Regions from separate parts of the Homo sapiens genome. Here all the other regions are linked to region 1. Evidence: promoter capture Hi-C in 16 types of primary human blood cells and fetal thymus (Javierre and others, 2016). All regions are on one chromosome and are shown on one strand. Each heading gives the region's core, a stretch centred on a gene start or on the middle of the fragment in contact. The rest is flanking DNA. Distances are from core to core; before and after follow the strand shown.

The links. The method cuts DNA at HindIII sites, captures the fragments that hold promoters and counts their contacts. A CHiCAGO score of 5 or more calls a contact.
Region 2: a contact is called between a fragment that was not itself captured here and the fragment with the promoter of MAP9 in region 1, in 1 of 17 cell types (total B cells). The highest score is 6.5, in total B cells.
Region 3: a contact is called between a fragment that was not itself captured here and the fragment with the promoter of MAP9 in region 1, in 1 of 17 cell types (endothelial precursors). The highest score is 8.5, in endothelial precursors.
Region 4: a contact is called between a fragment that was not itself captured here and the fragment with the promoter of MAP9 in region 1, in 1 of 17 cell types (endothelial precursors). The highest score is 7.8, in endothelial precursors.
Region 5: a contact is called between a fragment that was not itself captured here and the fragment with the promoter of MAP9 in region 1, in 1 of 17 cell types (endothelial precursors). The highest score is 5.0, in endothelial precursors.

What each region holds. Positions count from the first base shown.
Region 1 is chr4:155,375,613-155,378,302 of GRCh38, reverse strand. MAP9 (microtubule associated protein 9) reads left to right here and starts at 1,338. Exons shown (of 14, transcript NM_001039580.2): 1 at 1,338-1,532; 2 at 2,389-2,527. The coding sequence starts at 2,453. RefSeq lists an enhancer at 1,456-1,885. The HindIII fragment of the contact is 1,286 bases long and covers 562-1,847 here.
Region 2 is chr4:154,413,989-154,416,678 of GRCh38, reverse strand. All of the region lies in intron 1 of DCHS2 (dachsous cadherin-related 2), which reads left to right. Among named protein-coding and RNA genes, the nearest start is that of DCHS2, 76 kb to the left of the region's middle. RefSeq lists an enhancer at 266-485. The HindIII fragment of the contact is 5,217 bases long and covers 1-2,690 here.
Region 3 is chr4:154,798,699-154,801,388 of GRCh38, reverse strand. RBM46 (RNA binding motif protein 46) reads right to left here. Exons shown (of 5, transcript NM_144979.5): 4 at 1,825-2,607. Among named protein-coding and RNA genes, the nearest start is that of RBM46, 19 kb to the right of the region's middle. The HindIII fragment of the contact is 1,539 bases long and covers 559-2,097 here.
Region 4 is chr4:154,817,597-154,820,286 of GRCh38, reverse strand. All of the region lies in intron 4 of RBM46 (RNA binding motif protein 46), which reads right to left. Among named protein-coding and RNA genes, the nearest start is that of RBM46, 38 kb to the right of the region's middle. The HindIII fragment of the contact is 1,565 bases long and covers 516-2,080 here.
Region 5 is chr4:154,849,015-154,851,704 of GRCh38, reverse strand. No RefSeq gene overlaps it. Among named protein-coding and RNA genes, the nearest start is that of RBM46, 69 kb to the right of the region's middle. The HindIII fragment of the contact is 766 bases long and covers 927-1,692 here.

The sequences.
Region 1 (2,690 bases), core at 89-2,588:
AGTTTATTCAGAAAATAGTTTTGCTTAGCTAAGATAAGAATGCGATTATAGAGGAAAAAGTGAGAGAATGTTTTACAGTGGAAAGGAGGTTCCAGGAGCATGAGGTGAACCTGGAAGGGTTCAACAGTAGTGCCATGAGTTAATAGAAAATAGGGAGCATTTTCTATTCTGGGTATGTGTGTGTAGAGGTGGTGTACATTTTCAGCTTCATAAATGGATACAGATGAGTGGACATATATATATAATATATTATATAATATATATTATATATATAATATATTATATAATATATATAATATAATATATATATACTATTAGTTCTGTCCATCTAGAGAACCCTGATTAATACAGCATTGTATTTTACTAAATTTCTTATTTCTTGTTATGCACATTTAGTTTTTCAATACATTGATTTATTAAATTTCTATCTCAATGTGATTTGTTTATACAAAATTGAATTAGTGAAATATTAACATATTTTAGAGATGTGGAAAAAATACCAGGTATGAGTTTAATTACTAGTCAATGAATTCATTCAGATAATTCAACTAGGATTAAGCTTTTTAAAAATTAAAAATAGTAAAAATTCATATTATTTTAAAGACTTTCAATAAACGTTTTTGGTTTTTATTTGCTTTAAGAATTTCCTATGCGAATTAAATGATGTTGATTTTGTTTACTTTAGTAGCACATGCTCTTTTAGCCTAGTGGATCATTTTGTTTGGTTTGATTGGAATAAGATTACTCACTAAGTATACAAAGAGGGGGAGTTTTACATTCAAGTAAGATGTCAAATGGGCTTTCAGTTGTGTCCACAAGAGCTGAGGTCTCTCCAGGCCCTTTGCGGCTTAGTTGCATGAAGAGCATATCTAATATCGAATACAATTCCAGGCACTCTTCCAAGTGTTCCACTTGTATTATTTCATTCAATTTTACAGCAACCTTTCAGGTGTCTATTATTAGTACACTTTTGTTTTCCCCCAGAAGAAGAAACTGAGTCATAAAGACCTTAACTTGGGACAATCACGTGTGTAGGAAAGGGGTACCAGGATTCAAACCTGCAGTCGGAAACAGGGTTCTGCAAACTCACTACCGTACTATTCTGTCCCATCCACTGACACCGTACTTCGATTCAGAGAACTTCACGTCCTAACTGTGGCAAAACGACGAATGTGCTTTATTTGCAACACGTGCAGATAAGGACCCTTACTCTATTGGCAAGAGTAAGGCTATCTGGGTGGGAGTTGGGCGGGTCCTGTCTCCTAGGCAACAGCACATGCACACAAGCGACCAATAATGAGCCCCTCTCCAAAGACCCAGGAAGGTGATGTCACTTCCTTCGTCTGGGTGGTTGCCCCAGCGACACGTTGGGCCGAAGAGCGGTGTTGGGTACCCGAGAGACCCGGCGGTGGGGAAGTCACTTCCTCCCGAAGACGCTGTTTCCTAGCAACCGCCCTCCGCCTCTGTTATTAGCCCCTCCTCCTCGCTCGGTCCAGGACCGGCTCTGCGGGCGCCGCCAGGCCCAGACCAAGGTGAGCAGCTCCTACCCGATGCTTGGCTCTTGATTCTCAGGGTCGCGGAGAACTGGCCGCGGGCGTCCGGGGCCGGGAACAGAAAGCGGGACCTGGGGGCCATGGGGGATCCGGACAGAGACCGCGCTTGGACGTGCACGGGCCTGGCGTTCGCTGGTGCTCAGCATACGGCGCGGTGAGGAGCGGCGAGCACCCGGACGTCACCTGGCCTGGTAGGGAACGGAACCCGGGGCGCACAACGCTATGGGCGGCCCTGCCAGGCCTCTGCTCCGAGTACGGGAAACCGCGATTTTAATGCGGCTCATCGCGAAAGCTTCGTCGTTTTGTCTGGCTCTCTTTAACACTTTTGTGAGAGGAAAAATTGGCTTGCAATACATCTCGCTGGCTGTTTGCGGGTTAGCATTACGATCTTTTTCTTTGAATAGCGCTGTATGCAAATATATAGATACATTTTTTTTTTGGTGGTGGTGCTCATAATTTTTACGCCGACGATCCTTTTGATGGCCTTTTAAATAAGACGTGACTTATTTTGAAGGCAATGTTATACTTTAGAAGAGAGGTGAAAAATAAGGTGTTCTATTTTAATTGGCAGCATTTTGTCGTATTAACTTGTAATCATTTATTTGCAGACTTTTTAAGTAGTTGCAAAACTATTTTAGGATAACTTCCATTTGAATTTTTTTAAACAAGCTTGTTATGAGAATTTGCTATTTCTTTACAAGAACCTTTTTAAGTGAAGATGTAGCCCAATGTTCATATCAGATGCTTTTCTTTGACCTTTGTGGGGAGAGTAGAATCAAATGTAATAAAATAAATTCTGAAGCATGCGAAGTCTGATTTGTTTTGTATATTTCAGCTACTATCAGAAGTTGAATTCTAATAATTAGCTATTTTATAAAGGTAACGAGAAAAAATACACTATGTCTGATGAAGTTTTTAGCACCACTTTGGCATATACAAAGAGTCCAAAAGTTACCAAAAGAACTACTTTCCAGGTAAAGTATTTTTATTTGGAATCATTTCACAGTGTAAACACTGTATTAGATGGGTTGAAATTGGTGATTCTAGAACAGTCCTATATAAAGCAGGGGTAAATCTTATATTACTTTTGAGGTTTTGCACATGATCATGTTTGGGCTCCATCCAGTATTACAAACT
Region 2 (2,690 bases), core at 133-2,632, 960 kb after region 1:
CCTCTTCTGTGGTACCAAGTTGGTTGCTTAGGAAAGTGGGTGGAGTTACCGTGTGATCTGAGGGGCTCAGAAATCAAAGTCTCAAGTCTTGAGATGTCAGAAATGTCCGGCTAGAGCCTAGGACAAGGTGTTTGGAGGATCAGATGGCACAAAAGAGGAAACAATAGGAGCAGGACTCAGGGAGCCTGAAGATTTAATAACAGAAGGAAGACGTATTCCTCGTCGGGTGGGGAATAACACCAGAGGCCTGAAGGAAAAGAAAAAGAAAAGATGTTGGATAAACACAGCCTCCCTGCGCTGTCAGCTGCTAATGATCCTGGGATGCGAGGTGGGGGCGCTGTGAGGTCAACTGCGTCCCTCTGGCAGGAAATAGAAGACGGGGCTGATGCAGCTGTGCTCCTCTGTTTCTGGTGTGGACCCTCCTTCCAGGCTGTCCTCGGGGCCTATCCTGTCCCCCGTCTCTGGGCTCTCTTCCTGTGGGATCTCCCCAACTTTCAGACAGCTGATCATGACCATTTGACTTAGCGCCCTCTTCCTACCCCTTCTCTTGTGCTCATCTCAGTTCTACTGCATCAGCCTTCAAACTTTTTGGACTGAATGTACCTATTAATAAAAGTTTTGAGTACTCATCTCCAGTATATGTTTATTTCCTTATAAACCACGTGCAAGAATTTTGTATACAGGTGTATAAATGTGAATGTATACATGAAATAAAAATGAATATAGAAGATAAAATATGAATTTAAAATATATAAGATAAAAATATTTAAAAAATAATAAAATGGAAGAGGTAAAAAACTTATTTAAGTGAATTTATGTTTTCTTCCTACAAGTCTGTCCATCAATTCCCTTGGAGAAAACTCAGAGTGTTCTGCCACTTTTTGGAGACCTCTGGGTGGAGCTGATTCCTGGCCACGCTTTGGGCTGAATCTGATCTCATAGTCATTTTCCTCACCGACCTCGGTTTCCTCCTAATTAGCTCCATCTTACTGACGCTCGGGACCTGGAGATACCGTAGCTTTAGGTCTCCAGTACCCAAGGTCAGGCTTACTTGAGATTCTTTAGCTAAGTCTTTCTGTCTTTCCCCCAGTACCGGAAGTCAAAGATAAATATCTGAATAATCTCAGACTGCCTCTGGTTGCTTCTCCAAAAAGGAGGAATTCTGTCAAATGCCAGCTCATTCAAGAGCAGATTTAGGAGTAGGAATGCCTCTAAGTAATAATGTGGTGGCACCCCCAGAGGCAGGAAATCCATGGCAACTGAGAAAGGCTGGGTCTCTGGGAAACCTGAGGCTACTGAAAATTTGGAGCAAGTTAGGAAATTCTATTGCTAATGAGTCATGGGCTCCAATTAAATGTATATGCAATTAAATCTATGTATAAGTCAAAACAAATTATGAAATGTTTCATCAATATTTGAGAGAAGATTAGAAATGAATCCTTGTAATTGATTGAAAATACTGTTCAAATTAGTATCAGATTTCTGAAAAAATTTTTATGGTTAGTTCCCTCATCTATTAATTTGCAAATAGCATCAGTTATATCAGGTCCCTCCCGGTCTTCAGTAGTATAACTAAATGATACTGATTTAGGCAGAGAAAATAGCCATGTGTTAGGCAGTTGAACAGCTGCTAAAGAGGACAGTATGTTACAGGGGTGAACCTTTTGCCATACCCACATGAGCTCATCTGGGAGCTGTAGCCGCGGCATCACCTTCTTAGCAGCTGTCAAGGAAGGCAAGTACTTCCACTGTTGAATGGCTGTGTTCCCCAATGGCATGACTGCCAACACAGGTTCAGATCATTCTAAACTCCCTTTTCTCTGTCCACTCTTGATTTTCCTTATAACCTGCAGTATCCCATTTAGGAAAGAGGTGAGCAAGGTCTCATTTTCAGTCTTTCCTTTCACTTCTCTATCACGAATACCTAAATCAACTTTTACATATTCATGTAAGAAAAGGCCTATCCCCCATCTTGGTGGGTATTAATGTTTTAGTACTTTAAAAGCATAGTTTTATGCATGAGATGGGGAAGTTGTAGTTGGATAGCAGTCCAGTGACAGTTAGTGATAAATTTGTGTTTTGAGTAGAGAAACAAGTGTACAATGATGTCAGGAATGCTTCTTGAATTACGGCCTAATTTTTGGCAGTTATCATATGTCCCTTGGCCAAAAAAAAAAAAAAAAAAAAAAAAGAAAGCTGTATGGAGATATTTTTTGTCTTCACTTTATATTATACTCTCTGGGAATTTTCTGCTTTGCTTCCTTTAATGTTAGAAACTCAACCTAGGAGGATAATTTATAGTGTTAAGCATTTTGTGTTTTGATTGGGTTTAAAGAAATGCTAGATTTAAGCTCTGAGTTAGTACTTTGTTTTAAATCTTGAAAAAGTAGATTAGTAACTGAGCTAGTGTTTTCGAATCTTCTTCTAAACATAAAGAGATATCACTCTGAATTGGAACATATATCTATATCTCTCTCTCTCTATATATATATATATATAATTGATTTATTTGATTTATTTCTTCAAGAAATATTTATTGACTGTTTGCCCTCTATCTGCCCTATTCTAGAAGCTGAGGAGATAGTGGTGAATAAGAAAAAAGGCCTGCCATATGGAATTTATTGTTATTTTTTTGTAGGGAGGAGAAGAGTCTTGATAATAAACCCCAGTAAGCAAATAAATGAATAAGA
Region 3 (2,690 bases), core at 79-2,578, 580 kb after region 1:
CTTCAATGATGCTAAATCCCCAAATATCTCCAAACTAATAATTGAAGACACTGCTTAAATGTGTCTTCAAGCAGAACCTTACCTTTAGTCCCACAAGTTTTGCTGATATCTCCAAATCAGAATCTCTTAAAAATATTTGTAATATACTTTGGGAGGCTGAGGAGGGCGGGTCGCCTGAGGTCAGTAGTTCAAGACCAGCCTGGCCAACGTCGTGAAACCCTGTCTCTACTTAAAATACAAAAATTAGCCGGGCACGGTGGTGGGCGCCTGTAATCCCAGCTACTCAGGAGGCTGAGGCAGGAGAATTGCTTGAATCCAGGAGACAGGTTGCAGTGAGCCAAGATCATGCTACTGCACTCAAGTCTGGGTGACAAAGACAGACTCCATCTCAAAAAAAAAAAAAAAATTTCTAATACTATGGCAGTGGCTATGGTAAGCCTAAACAATATATAAAAGCAAGCCTAAACAATATATAAAAATTATTCTCCCTTTTGAGAATGTTTTTCTTGACTGTTTTCTCTTAAACTTGAGAATATGAATTTTAAATACATATAAGCTTCTGTACTATGGTTCTGCAACCATATAAAAAATAATTTTCAGTGAAGAGTTTCACAATTATAATCAAGAAACAATGATAACACTCAAAAGATCTTTCTCTTTTATTTGATTCTCAGGAAACCACTACTCTTCCAATAAATATTATTTGGGACACAAAGTAATCATCACTAAAATCTATAGCCGCATTAAAAAATAAACAGGTTTTGGGGGGTGGAGGAGGGGGGAGGCTAACCTAACAGTAAAAAACAGAAAGTAGGAAAACACCATAGTGATATTATGTCTCTTCCTTCACAACGTCAAATATTTAGTTAGCATATCTTTCTATGCTTTTGCAAAGCCTTTCATAATTATCCTTCAAACGTTTTAAAGAAAATTTACTTTTTGAAAAACATGAAATTAAAAAGAGAATGGTCACAAACATCTCTTAATGATGCTTTTTGTCTTTCATGAGTGATAATGACAAATTTCCAGATTGGTGAGCATAAAGCTGTGTCTACACACGACCCATCTGAAATCCCACTGATTTTACTAACTCCCTATCCCCTGCCCCTCAAAAAGATCATTATGTAGACTTCACCAAAGATGCAGGGACACTCTATAATAAATTGGTTTAATGAACATATCTTGTAACTTATACAAAAAATTTTTATTTCAACTGAGAATTAGTCATTAAAAAAACAATAAATTAATAAAACAGGGTTATGAACACTACAGTAAAACCAAATTTTCCCACAGGTTAATGCTTAAAAAGCTAAATGTAGGCCAGGTGCGGTGGCTCACGCCTGTAATCCCAGCACTTTGGGAGGCCGAGGCGGGCAGATCACGAGGTCAGGAGATCGAGACCATCCTAGCTAACACAGTGAAACCCTGTCTCTACTAAAAATACAAAAAATTAGCCAAAAAATTAGCCTGGCATGGTGGCACGTGCCTGTAGTCCCAGCTACGCGGGAGGCTGAGGCAGGAGAATCGCCTGAACCTAGGAGGCACAGGTTGCAATGAGCCAAGATCATGCCACTGCACATAAGCCTAGGCGACAAAGCAAGACTCCATCTCTCAAAAAAAAAAAAAAAAAAAAGAAAAGCTAAATGTAGGAAGATTTTACAGGGCACAAGTTTCAAGAAAGTTATCATGACTTTATAAAATTGAGATAAAATTTATGTTACATACTTACCACTAATGTTGAGTTCAAAATAAATGAATTTAAAAATAATCTACAGTATTTCCTAATTTCATATTATACATCATTTAAAGTATTTTTAAACTTACCCAAATGAAGTAATGTAAACTGGGCTGCCAGTTCCTTTGCATCTTCTAACGTAGTACAGAGTTTGTCTGGCATGAAGTAACTCTGGGATCCATTTGCAATAGCAGGAATAACTATCTTATACACCAAGAGTACTTTCCCATCTTGACTTGTTGTTGAATATAAATAATATTCTGGTGGTGCCCAGTTATTTTTGTTGCAGTAATAATCCAAATGCATTACTGCAGAATTAAAATGATTGGATTTTAAAGAATACATACTAATTGGAGTAAGCTTTGTTCCAGGATAAAAAGGGTAAGTGCATCTTTCAACTTCAGGCGGACTTGGGCTATGCTGACCATTGAGACGAGCAGGAAGAGTTGGCAGCTTGCCTAGAGTTTTTGGGTGGCTCTCTTCTTTGTTAGCAAACACAATCAGATTTTCAGAATTTGGACTAATCTGACCATTAAGATGCTGTCTCCAAGTGTTTTCTTTATTTACTGGTTTAGCTAGTGTTACCTCAATACTTGCTCCATCAATGCATTTTCCATTCATAACAGACATGGCAGCCACTGCATCTTCTCGGTTGAAAAAGTGAACAAAAGCATAATCTCTAAGTTTCTTTACCCGTTCAACTGCACCAGGCTTAAATTTATTGAATTCTGCTTTAATTGTTTCCTCTGTAGTTGAGATCATTAAATTTCTTACATAAAGAACTTTAACTCTCTGCATGGTTTCCTCATCCACCTCTTTCTCTGGGTCAGCCCAATCTACCTGAATGGTGTGGCCCCATAGTTGGAATGTTCCTGTAAAAAAAAAATAATAATTTGAAGAGAATTAAAATAAAGAATAAAAGGTAAAGATGTTCAGTAAAACTGTTTCCCCAGAG
Region 4 (2,690 bases), core at 49-2,548, 560 kb after region 1:
TGGTAACTTTAGTTAAAAACCTTTTGATCAGTAAATAAAAAAACAAATTTAGAGAAAAAGAAGTAAGGGGCAAATAGTTATTTCTGGAGTTCTATAAAGATGAACAAAGAGAAGAGTATTTTGATATTTGAATGAAAATTATGATTAATACATTATCAGAAAAAAATTTATCTTTCTAAACAAATTATCGTTTATCTTTCTAAATATTACTACCCTGCTAAGATAAAGAAGAGACTCTAAAAACAAATGAGATCACCCAATTTCTGATAAGCAGAAAGCCAAAGAATCTAAGTAAATTTGGGAAATAGAAATGTTGTATAAGGTGTAGTTATTTTACATATGAAACACCATTTCCTTGCTGTCTTAAAAAAGATAGATGGCCAAAATAATACTAAACTTAAATCTTTCTTCCCAACAGCTAAATTTTATCTACTTGAAATCTAATTTAGTCATATATAGTACAACTGTGGGCATCCATCTATTTTAGTGGTTACCTCTTCATATGCCTTAAAGCTTTCTGTTATGGATGTATATCCAAATCTATGCTAAGAAATTGTGTATAAAAGTATAAACAAATGAAAAATTTCTGATAACCTATAGAAAACTAGATATAAAAATAACCATCTAAAGATTATAATTCAGTATAAAAATAATCACAATATCTTCTGTTTTTACATGATGAACTAGGTAACACTAATCAACCCTCTTGGTAAGAACTAGAAAATGTAAGAAATTATTAAAAACAAAAACATTTGTTTCAAATCACTGAGAACCAAGACAGTGACGAATTATGGGGCTGTGATCTCAGACAAGAAGAAAACCCAAACGTATGTGCACCTCTTTGGGAGGTGCATTTCCTCTGGAAGGCTTGGCCAATTCCCAAAAGCTCCCTCTTGGGAATTAACAGAAGGTGCCAAGAGACAAATGAAGCTAGGAAGACAAAAACTAGAACTAAAGAGCTACTAACAAGGAATGACTGGAACTGAGTAAAAATGGACCAGAAACAGACAAACTTTAACAGAGACTAAATTTAACTTCAATTCCTGCCTAGATTAAAGCAATCTGGGTTTGTCAGTCCTTTGGCCACCTTTCTGAAGCCAAAATAAATCTTCTATGAATAAATATAACATCGTGCTAGCCTTCAAATTGTCTCCACAATTTTTCATACACAGTATCTGGTATTGAATAAAAAATAACCAGTCATACAAGGAGGTAAAATTACTATCACCTAAAACCAACAGAAACAGCAGACAACAGTAACAGATCCACAGGGTATTTAGATCATTAAATTTCAGAACTGAGTATTGAAATAACAATGCCTAATACACTCAAGAAAATAAAAGACTAAAATTTTTGGAAGGAAGTAGAAATCACAAAAGAGACTCAAATTTAATTCTAGAACTGAGAAATGAATCTAAATGAATGGTTCTTAGGATAAACCTTTTAAATTTTTTACAGATAAAAAAATTACAAAACAGAAGACAGGTAAGAAAATATACAGACTGACATACAAAAGGATGGACAATACAGAAGAAATATAATCAATACACAGGTTACAGTAAAAAGGTTTAACATATGTGTAGCTGGATTACCATAAATAAGAGAGAAAATGAACAAATGCAGTATTTGAAAACACAATAACGCAGAACTTACTAATACATTAATCTAGACTTCAGAAGTGGTGAAAGTACCAAGCAAGATGAAAACTAAGAAGACTATACAAAAGTCAAATCCATAATAGTAAAACTTCTGAAAATCATAGATAAAAAGAAAATAGTAGAAGTAGCTGGGTACAGGGAATGATGGCACAATGTATGTTCAAAGGAGTAACAAGCTGATCAACAACAGATTTCCCAAGAGAAACAACAGAAGCTAAAGGACAGTGGAATCATAACTACTGCAAAGGGCTGAAGTAAAATAACTGCTGGCCTAGCAAAAATAACCTTTCAAATGGCAGGTGAACTAAGAATACATTCAGACAAATGAAAATAGAGATAATTTGTCATAAGCATATCCACACAAAAGAAAATATGAATCAGTATTCTTTAGGTAGAATAAATAAACAATTCTAGTGGAAGCTTAGAGATGGAAGAAACAGAGGGCAAAGGAAATGATAAATGTGTAAATCAATATCAATGTATATTAAGTATAAAAACGATTATAACTAGATGTTTTTATTATATTGGGCATTGTGGGGTTTTAAATGTATAAGGTTTAAATATATATATATAAGTACCAATGACACTACATAAATTGTAAAAGAAATGAAAGAAGTCAAAGTGTACTAAGTTCCTTGTATTATCTAGGATGTGATAAAATACTCATTAATATTAGACTTCAGTAAGTTAGGAATGCATGTTGGCATTTATAGAGTAAGGACTAAGAGATTAAAGACTGAATAACTAATACAGCTAAAGAAAAGAAAGTCAAAATAAACACTGTATAAAAAAAAGGCAAGAAATGAAAAAATAAAACAAGCAGAGAAAACAGAACGCAAATGGCAAAATGAGAGACTTAATCCCAAGCCTATCGGCAAGGACATTAAATGTATATTTAGAAATTAATACTGAAGATTCAAGAAGAAATCAAAACATAAAAAATATTTTTAAACAAATGATAATAAAAATAAAACATATCAAAATGTATGGAACACAAGGCCAGGCATGATGGATCACACCTGTAATCCCAGC
Region 5 (2,690 bases), core at 60-2,559, 530 kb after region 1:
GTATAACACATTGCAAGGCAAGAATCTCATGGTATTTTCTAAATTTTTAAGCATTTTTTCTGATCTAATTGACACTTCACCTATATTGACCTACATAGGTTTCAATGTCTCAGCTTAATTCTCTGGAAAGGTGAAAATTTCAGATACTCAGTGACTGATGAACATAACCAGCAACTTAGTAGAGATGGTTTCCACATACCAAATATAGCAAGATATTGACTCCCAACCATGCCAGTCAAGCTTCAGCACAAGAAACAGAAAACATTCTAGATATTTCACACAGAAGGGGACTTAGCACAAGAAATTGGGTGCTGAAAAAATTGCTAGACAGAAACATAAGTAAGGAGCCCACCCATGGACAATTTGGATTTCAAGATCACACCCCCTTGCCCCCAGCTGCAATTTAATCAGGTAGCTGCTGGTGTTGCTGCTACCACAACTACTGCCACCACGAGTGCCTCACACCCACAAAGTTCATGACTAGACACTAGGAATTGCCATCTGCTACTGAAAACATGTATATTTAACTATTGTCACCAGCCAGCACAGCAATAGAAAGAGGGCCTCTGTCTCACCTTCAAATTCCAGGGGTCCTGTGAGTGCATCTTATTCACACTACCTGAATCAAACCCAGAACCACCACTGCAAAGGAATCTGGAAAATGTAGTTTTTAGCCTCTCTGCCCTTACAATACAGGAGGGAATAAAGAAGAGCATAAATAAAACTCATTGCCAATATAGCATACCCTGCATACCACCTAATTCTACTAGTAGGAAAACTAAAGCTTCTCCTGATTTCTTTTCTCATCCCCAATGTCTATAGCCAATCCCTTCCCAAACCTTTCAAACCCATCCTTTCCCCTCTACCTCAGTTGCTATGTCCTAGTTCAGGCTATCCATCTATCACCTGGATTACTAAAACAAGCTTCCTAACTGGAATCTCTTCCTCAAGACGTCACTCATTACTAACTTGCCTTCTGCAAGTCTTCCAGGACTTGTCTTGGCAACTAAAGTGACTTTCAGAAATTCAAATAATATTACTTCTTTTCTCTATTTAAGGCTGTTATCTGTTTCCCATGAACTACAGAACGAAGAACAAGCTCACAAATGTCCTCCTGACCTGATCTCTGCCTTCCTCTCCAGGCTTATGTTTGATTATCTCATTCTCACCTTCTTCTAATTCTGCAATTTAGGCTTCCTTCATTCCAAACTTCTTCTAATTCTCTGTAAGTGCTGTGCCATCTCACAATACCATGTTTGCATATACTATTTTTTCTAACTGAAATACCATGCCTCCTTCTCATCTTAGAAAACTACTTTTCCTACTTCACACAGCATATTATCAATAATTGTTTACTGGCACCCCAGATAGTTAATCACTTGTACTATTTCAGTGGCATGTTGAGGAATTTAAAAGGCCAGGATGTCAGTGGATGACAATTTGGTTTGCATTCCTCTCTTACGTGTTTTCTGAATATCGTTTTTAAGCATTACCTATTGTTGGAAAAGATTCTACAGAGCCCTTTTGGAACAGGTACATAGTTACATAATCAGAGCAGAGGTAATTTACCTGAACATTTGTGCTCTATAGGATTTCATGCAATCCTGATGTTCCCCTTGTTTATTGAGGACTGGATATTGATGCAGACACTTGTTCTCAGGAATATCCCTGTCACTGAGAAATACAGAAGCTTTGACTCAAGGGGACTTATATATTGATTGGTCAGTGCTGCACCCCATGAGAAGAGGGACAGTGCACTCTCATCATTGTATATCCAACACTGATTACCACTTGCAGGTAGTAGGCATAAATTAAATATCTGCTGAGTATGTGAATATAAGAGGTTTACAAATTGAACATATAAGATATTCAAGGATGAAACTTTTCAAATTAAGGGCAAGAGGTAACTTACAGCCAGCTGCTCCTATCTTTCTTGAGAATTGCTCCTATTGCTTATTTTAGAATGTTACCATCATAGTATAATAGGGGACAGTGAGGAATGTTTAAATGTGAAGGGAGGCTTAGCTTATATAAACAGTTTTTAAAATTTTTATGTTAGTCTAAAATATATTTTCACCTACACTTATGGCATACTGGGCAACAGAAGAATCATGAAATTTTCTATGATTCAGGACACAGAATAATCTTCTACAAGACCCTGGAATTCTAGTTCCAGTAATTTCTATCCAGATGCTTTTGACAATTTTCTGGCCTCACTATGTGTATTAGTCTGTTTTCACACTGTTGATAAAGACATACCCAAGACTGGGCAATTTACAAAAGAAAGAGGTTTACTGGGCTTACAGTTCCACATGGCTGGGGAGGCATCACAATCATGATAGAAGGGAAAAGGTACATCTCACATGGCAGCAGACAAGAGAAGAGTACTTGTGCAGGGAAACTCCTCTTTTTAAAACCATCACATCTCATAAGTCTCATAAGTCTTATTCACTATCATGAGAACAGCATTGCCCACACGATTCAATTACCTCCCACTGGGTCCTTCCCACAACACGTGGGAATTTGGGATGAGATTTGGGTGGGGACACAGCCAAACCATATCATTCCACCCCCAGCCCCTCTCAAATCTCATGTGCTCACATTTCAAAACCAATCATGCCTTCCCAACAGTCCCCCAAAGTCTTAACTCATTTTAGCCTTAACTCAAAAGTCCACAATCCAAAGTCTTA